Regions from separate parts of the Homo sapiens genome. Here regions 1, 2 and 3 are each linked to region 4. Evidence: promoter capture Hi-C in human tissues and cell types (Jung and others, 2019). All regions are on one chromosome and are shown on one strand. The core of a region is centred on a gene start or on the middle of the fragment in contact, and the rest is flanking DNA. Distances in the headings are between cores, read along the strand shown.

Region 1 (3,102 bases), core at 125-2,624, 260 kb after region 4:
TGGCGTGCACCTGTAGTCCCAGCTACTCGGGAGGCTGAGGCAGGAGAATCGCTTGAACCCAGGAGGCAGAGATTGCAGTGAGCCCAGATCTCACCACTGCGTTCCAGCCTGGACGATAGAAGGAGACTGTCTCAAAAAAAAAAAAAAAAAAAAAAAAAGGCTGGGCAAGGTGGCTCATGCCTGTAATTCCTGCACTTTGGGAGGCCGAGGCGGGCGGATCAGGAGGTCAGGAGATCGAGACCATCCTGGCTAACACGGTGAAACCCTGTCTCTACTAATAAATACAAAAAATTAGCTGGGCGTGGTGACGGGCGCCTGTAGTCCCAGCTATTCGGGAGGCTGAGGCAGGAGAATGGCGTGAACCTGGGAGGTGGAGCTTGCAGTGAGCCGAGATTGTGCCAGTGTACTCCAGCCTGGGTGACAGAGCGAGACTCCGTCTCAAAATAATAATAAAAAATGAATTTAGGCCGGGCGCAATGGCTCACGCCTGTAATCTCAGCACTTTGGAAAGCTGAGGTGCCGGATCACCTGAGCTTAGGAGTTCGAGACCAGCCTGGGCAACATGGTGAAACCCCGTCTCTACTAAAAATACAAAAATTAGCCGGGCGTGGTGATGGGCACCTGTAATCCCAGCTACTTGGGAGGCTGAGGCACGAGAATCGTTTGAACCCGGGAGGTGGAGGTTGCAGTGAGCTGGATACCGCCGCTGCACTCCTGCCTGGGTGACAGAGTGAGACCCTGTCTCAAAAAATAAAATTAAAAAAAAAACAAACCTGATACCTCCCAGTGTTGTCAGTTGGCACATACTATGTCTCAATAAAATGCTTGCTGTTACCCTCTATTTTGAGACGAAGAGGGACCCTGTGTATGACAACCCCAGATTGACCTCATTTGCATTTTAAGTATTTAGAATGTGGGTAACAGTTTTCAGTGGAGGAAACTGCCACATAGGGACTAAAGCAGTCCCAGGGTCCACTCCAGGAGCTGCCAGGCGCGCTCGGCCACAGGTGAGCCATCCATTCGCCCAACCGGTGCTCCAGGAAGGCAGGAAGCGGGATGCAGGGCTTCAGCCTCACTTCTCGCAGCTTCAGCACCTGGGTCAGAGGAGAGGCGGGCGGGGCGATGAAGGGACCGGAAGTCGGCCTTTTTTCCGTCCGCTTGACCAGCGTCGACTGCAGCCAATGAAATCAGGGATGGCGAGTGTTCAGCCAGTGGTGAGGCTGCATCCGGGTGTGGGTGCCGAAAAGGCAGCTGGGGGCGGGACGTCGAGGTGCGGCACGAGCGGCGGGCGCACCGGCCAATAGGCGGCGGGGTTCGTTTCCCGGGGGTGGGCACTGGCGGGTGCGGTGACGTCGGCGCAGGCGCGTCGCGGCGGCAGGGGCGCGGGGCTTCTGGAGGCGGCGGCGGTGGCCAGCGCGGCGGCGCCGGCCGTATTCTCCGGGCTGCGGAGGGTAAAGAGCGGGCTCGGGCCGAGGCTGGAGGGCTGGGTGGGGCCAGAGCGGCGCTTCGGGGGCCCGCGGAGGACGAGGGAGGGAGAGAATCTGAGGAGCTGGTAGGTTTGGGGACCCATCTGGGTGACCGGGCCGGGGAAAGGGCTCGGCCGGGCGTGCGAGGGGCGTAGCGGCCCCAGGGATGCTGGAGCGGAGCCTTAGGGATGGGCAAGGCCTTGGGGGCGGGGGGAGGTTCTGCAAAGGGAGCCACTGGGGTCTGCCTAGGGGCTTGTGCGGAGATTGCGGGCGAGAAGGGGCAGAGGACGGTGGAGGAGACTCAGATGGGGCCCTTTTTGGCGGCCCGTTTTGGGGGGTAGGGGAGACGGCGGTTGGGGGACTTTGATACATGGAGCGTGGAGGAAGAGGTTAATCTTGCGAGGACAGTGGAGGTCAGCGGGGGAGGGAGGCAAAGTGGGCTTTCAGGAGCGTGGAAGGCGTCGTCCGGTTCTTGGAAAATTCAGAATTGGAGGGAGTCAGAGATGGTTGGGGGTGGGCGGGGGTGTTCCATCGATGAGGGTCTTAAGAGACCTGCCGAGGGCAAGGACCAGGAGGGGTTAAGGTAGTAACTTGGGAATTTTGATCGGAATGGCAGCACTTTGGGAGGCCTGGGACGATCGCTTGAGCCTTGGAGTTCCAGGCTGCAGTGAGCCATGATTGCACCACTGCACTCCAGCCAGGGCGACAGAGCGAGACTCCTTCTCAAAAAACAACAACACCAACAACAAAAGAAGTAGACTTGAGAACTTCGTTAAGACATTGGCCAGGGAGTAAGGTAGCCCTGGGATTTGAGGTTGAGGAGAACGTGCAGGAATGGTGGGGGATTTTGGCTGAGCAGGTTGAGAGAAGTCTAGGAGTGAGAGGCAAAAAAAGACGCAGGCAGCGTCGGGGAAATCAGAATTATGTGTCTGGAGAGAGTTTTGCGGGGTGAAGGTGGCCCAGTGGGGCTGTTACCAAACTTTTGAGTGGTTATGGGGCTCTAAGAGGTGACATGACAGGACCCAGCCCAGTAAACACAGCACCTCTTTTTGTCGAGTTTGGAGCTTCAGAGTGGAGAGGTGGGAGGCTTGTGTTTGCTGGACAGGTCTGTCCATTAATCTAGGAGAAAAGGGTGGTGTCTCAGTTCCTCACTTCTGTCTTTCCCTGTCTTCTCCAGGGTTGCCATTAGGGGACTCCTGAGGTCCTATCTCCAGGCTGCGGTGACTGCACTTTCCCTGGAGTGGAAGCTGCTGGAAGGCGGACCGGCCGCCATGTCCACGTTCAGGCAGGAGGACGTGGAGGACCATTATGAGATGGGGGAGGAGCTGGGCAGGTGAGCTGTCTGCCCGCACGGCTGGGCTCCAGGGATAGGAGAGAGGCGCTGTGGGGTTTTCTGAACAGCAGCTCTCCTTTCCTGTTCTTTATCCTGTATGCTGAGAAGGAATGAGTCAGTATCATGCGGTGGGGGAACGAATTTGGGCCGTGGAGTCAGACAGCCCCGGCTGTGAATTCCTGCTTGGGAATCCTCTGTGTGTTTCCTGTGGGGAGAAAAGTAATTGAGCCGTTACAGCAGCCAAGACCGTGCCTGGCATGGGGCACCAGAGCAACAGATGCCAGCTGCTTTTGTTATTAAAAG
Region 2 (2,717 bases), core at 61-2,560, 290 kb before region 4:
GGAAGGGGAGGGGCACCCAGAGCTCTCCCAGCCACCCTTGGGAAGCACTGGCTGGTAGAAGAGGTTGGGGGACACCCCCCCTTCTGTTCCCCCACTGTTTGGCAAACACAGTGTCGGCTCCAAGGAGACAGACGGCCTGGGAATCATCAGATCCTGTGGCTGTACCCTCCCTCCTCCCAGCCCAGTGCCCAGAGCCACCCATGGGGTCTGCCCTCTCACCCCCAATAACACAGGGCTAGGAACCCTGTCTCAGGGGCAGGTAGGAGGGGGACACAGCCCAGGGTGGGCGTTACGGCCATTCCTCTGCCCACCCACCCACAGACAGCCCAGCACATAGGCTGGGCTCAGCACGAAGGTCCTGGGTCTGGGTTTGAATCCCGTCCTCACCACTTCCTGGAACAGGAGGGTCTGGGTTTGAATCCCATCCTCACCACTTCTGGAACAGGACGCCTCCTCCAGGGAGCCTCCCTGGGTTGGCCCAAGCCCCCCAGGCTGGGTTTCCACTCCTAGGGTGCCCCCAGCTTGGCTGGTGCTCCATCTTGGTCTGCGTTTTGGCCCAAGTCCCTTCCGGAGAGTGATGGGCTCCCCTCCACACTGAGGACACCCCCTGCTCCTTGCCGAGACCCCGAGACCCCGCTTCTGCCTGGGTAACGCGAAGGCAGCATTTGTTCAGTGCATGACCTCATCTCACAGAGGCTCACAACCACTCTCTGTGTTGCTCCATTGAGCCAAACGTGTATTAAGCGCCAAATGTATGCCAGGCACTGTTCTGTGGGCGGAAGAGGGTGCCCTGTGGGAACCTGCAGGGAAGGTGTTCCAGGCAGAGGGCACAGCCCGTGCAGAGGCCCTAAGGCAGGACCGTGCCAGGTGCGCTGGAGGCATAGCGAGGAGGCCTGTGTGGCTGGGATGAAGCAAGCGAAGGAGGAAGCTGGGGGAGATGAGAGCAGAGAAGAAGCTGGATGTTACGGGACGTGGTGCGGAGTACGAGAGAGAAACCTGAAGCAAAAAGATGGTAACTGGCCAAGGCATCCTGGTGCAGCAGAGATTTGAACTACACCCACCTCGTGGATGGAACTGGAGGCTCAGGGGCCCGGGAGGGGAGCCCATCTGGCCTGTGAGCCACTCAGCCTGATGCAAGCTGTGGGCAGGAAACAGGGGAAAGGTGCTGGGCCTGGGCCCATGCTGGGCTGGGCAGGTAGCCATGTGACCGTCCAGGCCACCTCCCCCGGGCCCATTGGCCGCCTGCCGCTGCTGGCTGGGCCTGCGCCTGCCCCGGACCCTATAAGGCCAGGGAGCTGAGGGTAGAGCCAGCTGCCAGCCGGGCCGGTCCGTCCTCCAGGGGACCCCGCGCAGTCCAGGTGAGCGGGGCCGCGTCTGCTTCGGTGACACCAGGGTGAGGCCAGGCCTGCAGGTGGGTGTCGGGCTGCTCAGGCTTTCAGTGGGGAGTGGGTGTGGGATGGGAGGCTAGGGAACCCCCATTCACGCACCTTCTCTGCCCCCTTCCAGCTTCTCACGTTCTCACTATGTCTGCTCCAGACGAAGGGAGACGGGATCCCCCCAAACCGAAGGGCAAGGTAAAGAGGGGAAATGGGGCAGATTCTTGCTGGGGCCTGGAGATGCCCCAGAGCCGGGGAAGGTGACCTCCACAGTCCTGGGGTCTCGAATCTGGAGAGGTGCTTCCCTGGTGGGCTGGTGGGGGCGGTCTGGGAGCCATGATGCCAATCCCTTCCTTTCTGACCCAAGCTGGAGGCGGGGGACCCACGCAGACCTCGACACCTTCCCCAGCAAGTGACCTTGGGCCGGCCTCAGCTCCGCCCCTCTCTGAGCCTCAGTTTCCCCATCTGTGCAGTGGGGATCCTGGAAGGAAAAGGTCTTTGGAGATCGGGTAGACGATCTTTTCCTCTGTGCATGGGAGGCAGGCTGAGTCTGCCCATTGCCCAGGTGTGGAAATTGAGGCTGAGTGGCTGAAACACTTTCCTGAGGTCACCCAGGAGCAAGGGGCCGGGGCGGCATTGGGCTGATCAATCGATGCTTCCTCTGACCCGTTCCTGCCGAGGCTTGGCCTGCTCATCCTGCACACCCCCCGCCCCCATGCAGACCCTGGGCAGCTTCTTTGGGTCCCTGCCTGGCTTCAGCTCTGCCCGGAACCTGGTGGCCAACGCACATAGCTCGGCGAGAGCCCGGCCGGCCGCTGACCCCACAGGAGCGCCTGCTGCCGAGGCTGCCCAACCACAGGCTCAGGGTGAGTGGCTGGCCCAGCTGGGGGCGTGGGGGGACTCTACACATGGACCTGGGAGAAGGAGCTCCCCGGGCAGGGACTTCCAGCCATTTGGGGAGTCCTCCATATTTGTCTGTGTGCTCTCATCAGACACTAGGACATCTTGTGGTGGATGGGGAAACTGAGGCATAAATATGGGGGGTGAGTGGCCGAAGGTGGCTTTCAACCCAGCCTGTCTCCCTGCAATGCCCCCCCACTCAGTCCCTCGGCCGTTCCCCCACCCTGCACTCCGTTTCTGATGCACCATGGCCCAGGCTGGGTGCTCTGCCCATCTGAGCTCATCAGAGTGAGATCCAGACTCCCAGGGAGGAGCAACAGCTCCCCTGGGGTCACACAGCCCAGGGGCTCCCCAGCCTCCTGTGGCTCAGCTTGGGCGATCAGGGACGGTGACAGGGAACCCAGGGTTGGGGCAGCCGCCTGAGCTGGGCCTCCCTCTGGG
Region 3 (2,861 bases), core at 362-2,861, 310 kb before region 4:
ATGAGCAGGGTCCCGGGCCCACCTGCTGATACAGCATTGGCCATGTGGGGGCTGCAATCGGATTTGGAAGACCCTGGGGCTTGGGGGCATGTCCAGTTTTCCCAGCTCCCTAAAAAATGACCATGCAGCCTGGCGCCGTGGCTCATGCCTGTAATCCAAACACTTTGGGAGGCTGAGGCAGGCAGATCACCGGAGGTCAGGAGTTCGAGACCAGACTGGCCAACATGGCAAAACCCTGTCTCTACTAAAAATACAAAAATTAGCCAGGCACAGTGGCACGTGCCTGTAATACCAGCTACTTGGGAGGGTCAGGCAGGAGAATCACTTGAACCTGGGAGGCGGAGGTTGCAGTGAGCCAAGATCACGCCACTGCACTCCAGGCTGGGCGACAGAGTGAAACTGTGTCTCAAAAATAAAAATAAAAATAAAAAGACCATGCCTACATCTGTGGTCATTCCAGGCAAGGCAATGAAAAGGCAGGGTTCTGAGGTCCAGCAGGGCTGGGTTTGAATAGGATCCCTGGCCGGGCACGGTGGCTCATGCCTGTAATCCTAGTACTTTGGGAGGCCAAGGCAGGCAAATCACGAGGTCAGGAGTCCAAGACCAGCCTGACGAATATGGTGACACCCCGTCTCTACTAAAAATACAAAAATTAGCTAGGTGTGGTGGCAGGCGCCTGTAATCCCAGCTACTCCGGAGGCCGAGGCAGGAGAATCACTTGAACCCAGGGGGCGGAGGTTGCAGTGTGTCAAGATCGCGCCACTGCACTCCAGCCTGGGCGACAGAGTCAGACTCTGTCTCAAAAAAAAAAAAAGAAAAAAAAGGAATAGGATCCCTCACTTGCTGTGGTATGCGGGGCAAGTGTTTTATGATCTCTGAGCCTCAGCTTGCTCATCTGTGAAATGGGGATCCTAGGGAAAGGGAAGGCCTGGCTTCTGGCTTAGTTAAGGGGCAGATTAAGAAATAAAAAGAGGCTGGGTGCAATGGCTCACACCTGTAATCCCAGCAATTTGGAAGGCTGAGGTGGAAGGATCACTTGGGGCTCAGGGGTTGAAGACAAGCCTGGTCAACACAGGGACATCTCGTCTCTACAAAAAGTTTAAAAAGTTAGCTGGGGGTGGTGGTGTGTGCCTGTGGTCCCAGCTACTTAGGAGACTGAGGCGGGAGGATCACCTCAGCCTGGGAGGGCAAGGCTGCAGTGAGCTATGATCACACCACTGCACTCTAGCCCTGGGCAACCGAGCAAGACCCAGTCTCAAAAATCGATAAATAATAATAATTAATAAGAAAAGTCATCAGCGAGTTGGCCAAGGTCACTCAGCAGGGCTATGGGGGCTGTGATCGCATGGACTGTCTCTATGGCAACAGCAGTGAGGATGACAGGTGGCCAAACTTGGTCCGGGAACGTATAATAGCTCAATCTTTTGAATCTAGCGCTCCCGAATTACTATGGCAACCGTAGGGCACTGGGCCAGCTCAAGGAGAGGGCGAGGGAAGCCTGGAGCCACGCCCCCTGGGCACGCCCCCGCACGGCCTCTCCCCATTGGTCAGTTCCGGAGGCCCCCACTGCGCGAGCAGCTATAAGAAGGGCGGGCGGGACCGGCGGGGGTGTGGAGACTCGAGCCTGGGGTCGGCGGAGACAGCTGGTGTCTGAAGCCGCTCGCGCCCAGGTGAGTGCCCTGAGGGCGGCGTCCGGGAGCGCCCCCCCGGGCTTAGGAGAGGAGCTCCAGATAGGGTGGTTGGGCGAAGGTCCGGCGGCGTGGGACGGGTATGACCGGCCAGAGCAGGTGGCTGGGACCCTTGGCCCGGTTGGCCCCAGCTCAGGACCCAGTTGGGCGAGGACCAGGCCTCAGAGGACGCGGGGTGGCAACCGGAGGGATCGCAGGCGGCAGGTCTGAGGCCCGAGGTCGAGCTCCCCCCCTGTAACTCTAGCTGGCTGCGTGACCTTGGGACCAGCATGGACCTGCTGCGTACCTCAGTTGCCCTGTCTGTCAAATGAGCTGTGAGTGGACTGGGACCCAGCAGCTACCACCTCCAGCCGTCTAGGGTGCTTGGGCAGTTCTGGGCCCAGGCAGGGGCCGCAGGGGTAGCAGGGACCTCCCACATCTTACAAAACAGGAAGCAGCCCAGAGAGGTGAAGGTGCTTGCCAAAAATCACACAGCTGGCCAGGTGCAGTGTCTCATGCCTGTAATCCCAGCACTTTGGGAGGCCGAGGTGGGCAGATCACTTGAGCCCAGGAGTTTGAGACCAGCCTGGGCAACATGGCGAAACCCGGTTTCTACTAAAAATACAAAAATTAGCCGAGCATGGTGGCACGTGGGTAATCCCAGCTAACTGGGAGGCTGAAGCAGGAGAATCACTTGAACCTGGGAGGCGGAAATTGCAGTGAGCTGGGATGGCGCCACTGCTCTCCAGCCTGGGCGAGAGAGATTCTGTCTTTAAAAAAATAATAAAAATAACACCGCAATTAATGGTAGCATTTGAACCCAGGTCTTTCTCACCTCAGAGACCATGCTTCGAGTCACTCCGGCAACCCTACCTTGCCAGAGGCTCATTATTGGACACCCTCTGTGTACAGAGCTCTGGACATGCATTGTCTGAGCTCCACAGAATGCCCCATTATGCAGATGAAGAAACTGAGGCCCCAAGAGGTTTGAGAGTTGCTCAAGTCACAGAGCCCAATTTGACAGGATCTGATGCCTGGGCAGGTGCTCCCCTTACTCAATCCTGCCCCGCAGGGTGACCCTGTTTGCAGCACGATGTCTGAAGAAGAGGCGGCTCAGATCCCCAGATCCAGTGTGTGGGAGCAGGACCAGCAGGTGAGGGCTGCCCCTCCCATGGAGCAGGGACAGAAGGTATT
Region 4 (2,903 bases), core at 135-2,634:
TCTCTCTTTTGTAATTGTTTTTTTTTTTTAAAGAGGGAGTCTCCCTCTGTCGCCTAGGCTGGAGTGCAGTGGCGAGATCTCGGCTCACTGCCACCCCCGCCTCCCGGGTTCAAGCGATTCTTAGCCTCCCGAGTAGCTGGGATTACAGGCATGTACTGCCACGCTTGGCTAATTTTTGTATTTTTAGTAGAGAGGGAGTTTCACCATGTTGGCCAGGCTGGTCTCAAACTCCTGACCTCAGGTGATCCACCTGCCTTGGCCTCCCAAAGTGCTGGAATTACAGGCGTGAGCCACCAAACCCAGCCTATAAATTATTATTATTATTATTATTTTGAGACAAGGTATCCCACTCTGTCACCTAGGCTGGAATGCAGTGGCACAATCATAGCTCACTGCAGCCTCCAATTCCTGGGCTCAAATTATCCTCCCACCTCAGCCTCCCAAGTAGCTGGGACTACAGGCACGTGCCACCACATCTAGCTAATTTTTTAATTTTTTGTACAGATTGGTGGGGTCCGGTTTCACTATGTTGCCCAGGCTGGTCTCGAATTCCTGGCCTCACGATCCTCACGCCCTGGCCTCCCAAAGTGCTGGAATTACAGGCATGAGCCACCATGCCCTGCTGTAACCATTTTGTCTTCAAGGACATGGAGATGTTCTCTAGTGCAAAATGAATGAATGTCGGCCGGGCGCGGTGGCTCACATCTGTCATCCCAGCACTTTGGGAGCCCGAGGTGGGTGGATCACCTGAGGTCAGGAGTTCAAGACCACCCTGGCCAACATGGTAAAACCCTATCTCTACTAAAAATATAAAAAGTAGCCGGGCATGGTGGCGGGCACCTGTAATCCCAACTACTCGGGAGGCTGAGGGAGGAGAATCTCGCTTGAACCCAGGAGATGGAGGTTTCAGTGAGCTGAGATGGTGCCACTGTACTCCAGCCTGGGCGACAGAGTGAGACTCTGTCTCAAAAAACAAAACCAAAAAGAAACCAAAGGAATGAGTGTGACTCAAATTCGCATGTCTGTGTAGCTATGTCTGTGTAGCTCTATGGATACCTCTGAGCTGTGACTGCCAGTCCCTATCACCCACAAGGTGACATCCTTCCACCCCCAATGTGGCACTCTGCCTCTCTGTGCCTCAGTTCCTCCATCTGTACAATGGGAGGGTAACCCCATCCCACCATTGGGCACGGGAGGATGTGATTTCCCACCCCAGACATGATCCGAGGCCAGTCCTCGTGTCATGTCCGTCTGCCTGGGCCCCCCAGTCCCCCAGGGGCCCCACATACCTTTCCTTCCACTGCAGGGCGGGCAGCTGGCCCAGAGGACAAGGGCCAGGAGAAGCTGCGGGGTCATGGCTGCGGCCAGCTCTGCTCTCAGGAGTGGGTGGGAACGTCGTGGGAGACTTGAGAGGGGAGGTGAGGACTTGGGACCTGCCCAGGGGAAAGCCCAGCCCAGGGTCAAGGCCCGCCCCCTCCCCGACTTCCTTCAGGTCTGACTCACTGGTGGGGCTCGTGGGGCCGCTAGGGAGATGAATTAGGGTGTGGAGGAGCCCCAGCCCCCTGGGGAGCACAGGCCACCCCTGCTCGGAAGGCCCCGAGGGTGGGGGCGGGGGAGGAGGCTGTGAAAGGGAGAAGTGGAGACCTGCTGGCTTTTCCCAGCACAGCATGTCCTGCTGGCCTTCCTTCCGCTGCCCTGAAGCGGGGGAAACCCCAGGCAGGCAGGCAGGGGCTCAGGGACATGGAGGGAGACAGAGGCAGAGATGGGGGAGAGAGGCAGAGAGACAGAGAAGACAGAAGGAAGACACAGAGAGACAGGGAGATGACAGAGACAGAGACACAGAGAGAGACACAGATGAGAGAGGCAGAGAGACAGAGACAAGAAGAGGAGGACACAGAGATAGAGGGATACAGAGACAGGGAGATGACAGAGACAGAGACAGAGAGACACAGATGAAAGAGGCAGAGAGACAGAGACGAGAGGAGGAGGACACAGAGATAGACAGGGAGATGACAGAGAGACACAGAGACACAGATGAAAGAGGCAGAGAGAAAGAGACGAGAGGAGGAGGACACAGAGAGAGAGAGACAGAGACAGGGAGATGACAGAGACAGAGACAGAGAGAGACACAGATGAGAGAGGCAGAGAGAAAGACAAGAGGAAGAGGACAAAGAGATAGAGAGACAGGGAGACGACAGAGACAGAGAGAGATACAGATGAGAGAGACAGAGATGAGAGGAGGAGGACACAGAGATAGATAGAGACAGGGAGATGACAGACAGAGAAAGGGGCATGACAGAGACAGAAACACAGAGAGAGACACAGAGATGAGAAAGGCAGAGATGAGAGGAGGAGGACACGGAGATAGACAGGGAGATGACAGAGACAGAGACAGAGACAAAGATGAGAGAGTCAGAGAGACAGATGAGAGGAGGACACAGAGATAGAGGGATAGAGAGACAGGGAGATGACAGAGACAGAGAGAGCTACAGATGAGAGAGGCAGAGAGACAGATGAGAGGAGGACACAGAGATAGAGGGATAGAGAGACAGGGAGATGACAGAGAAAGTGACAGAGATACAGATGAGAGAGGCAGAGAGACAAATGAGAGGAGGACACAGAGATAGAGAGAGACAGAGACAGGGAGATGACAGAGACAGAGAGAGATACAGATGAGAGAGGCAGAGAGACAGAGACGAGAGGAGGAGGACACAGAGATAGAGAGACAGGGAGATGACAGAGACAGAGAAAGGGGGATGACAGAGACAGAAACACAGAGAGAGACAGAGATGAGAGGAGGAGGACACAGAGATAGATAGGGAGATGATAGAGACAGAGAGAGACAGGGGAATGAGAGAGACAGAGACAGAGATGAGAGGAGGAGGACACAGAGACAGAGAGAG

The links. Contacts are between HindIII fragments. The study calls those that stand out against the background at their distance.
Region 1: a contact is called between the fragment with the promoter of DAPK3 here and the fragment with the promoter of EBI3 in region 4, in 3 of the 25 tissues and cell types used here (dorsolateral prefrontal cortex, psoas muscle and small bowel).
Region 2: the fragment with the promoter of PLIN4 here is called in contact with the fragment with the promoter of EBI3 in region 4 in 2 of the 25 tissues and cell types used here (heart right ventricle and pancreas).
Region 3: the fragment with the promoter of PLIN5 here is called in contact with the fragment with the promoter of EBI3 in region 4 in 1 of the 25 tissues and cell types used here (dorsolateral prefrontal cortex).

The regions. Positions count from the first base shown.
Region 1 is chr19:3,969,371-3,972,472 of GRCh38, reverse strand. DAPK3 (death associated protein kinase 3) reads left to right here and starts at 1,374. Exons shown (of 9, transcript NM_001348.3): 1 at 1,374-1,552; 2 at 2,644-2,799. The coding sequence starts at 2,738. RefSeq lists silencers at 1,390-1,519, 2,508-2,802 and enhancers at 1,691-2,322, 2,323-2,952. The HindIII fragment of the contact is 13,824 bases long and covers 1-3,102 here.
Region 2 is chr19:4,517,079-4,519,795 of GRCh38, reverse strand. It overlaps PLIN4 (perilipin 4), which reads left to right and starts at 1,310. Exons shown (of 8, transcript NM_001367868.2): 1 at 1,310-1,411; 2 at 1,507-1,574; 3 at 2,098-2,242. The coding sequence starts at 1,524. The HindIII fragment of the contact is 33,356 bases long and covers 1-2,717 here.
Region 3 is chr19:4,533,974-4,536,834 of GRCh38, reverse strand. PLIN5 (perilipin 5) reads left to right here and starts at 1,611. Exons shown (of 8, transcript NM_001013706.3): 1 at 1,611-1,670; 2 at 2,740-2,820. The coding sequence starts at 2,761. It overlaps LRG1 (leucine rich alpha-2-glycoprotein 1), which reads left to right. Exons shown (of 2, transcript NM_052972.3): 2 at 1-433. RefSeq lists an enhancer at 1,905-2,460. The HindIII fragment of the contact is 58,476 bases long and covers 1-2,861 here.
Region 4 is chr19:4,228,004-4,230,906 of GRCh38, reverse strand. It overlaps EBI3 (Epstein-Barr virus induced 3), which reads right to left and starts at 1,384. Exons shown (of 5, transcript NM_005755.3): 1 at 1,290-1,384. The coding sequence starts at 1,356. RefSeq lists enhancers at 1-111, 1,075-1,164. The HindIII fragment of the contact is 27,598 bases long and covers 1-2,903 here.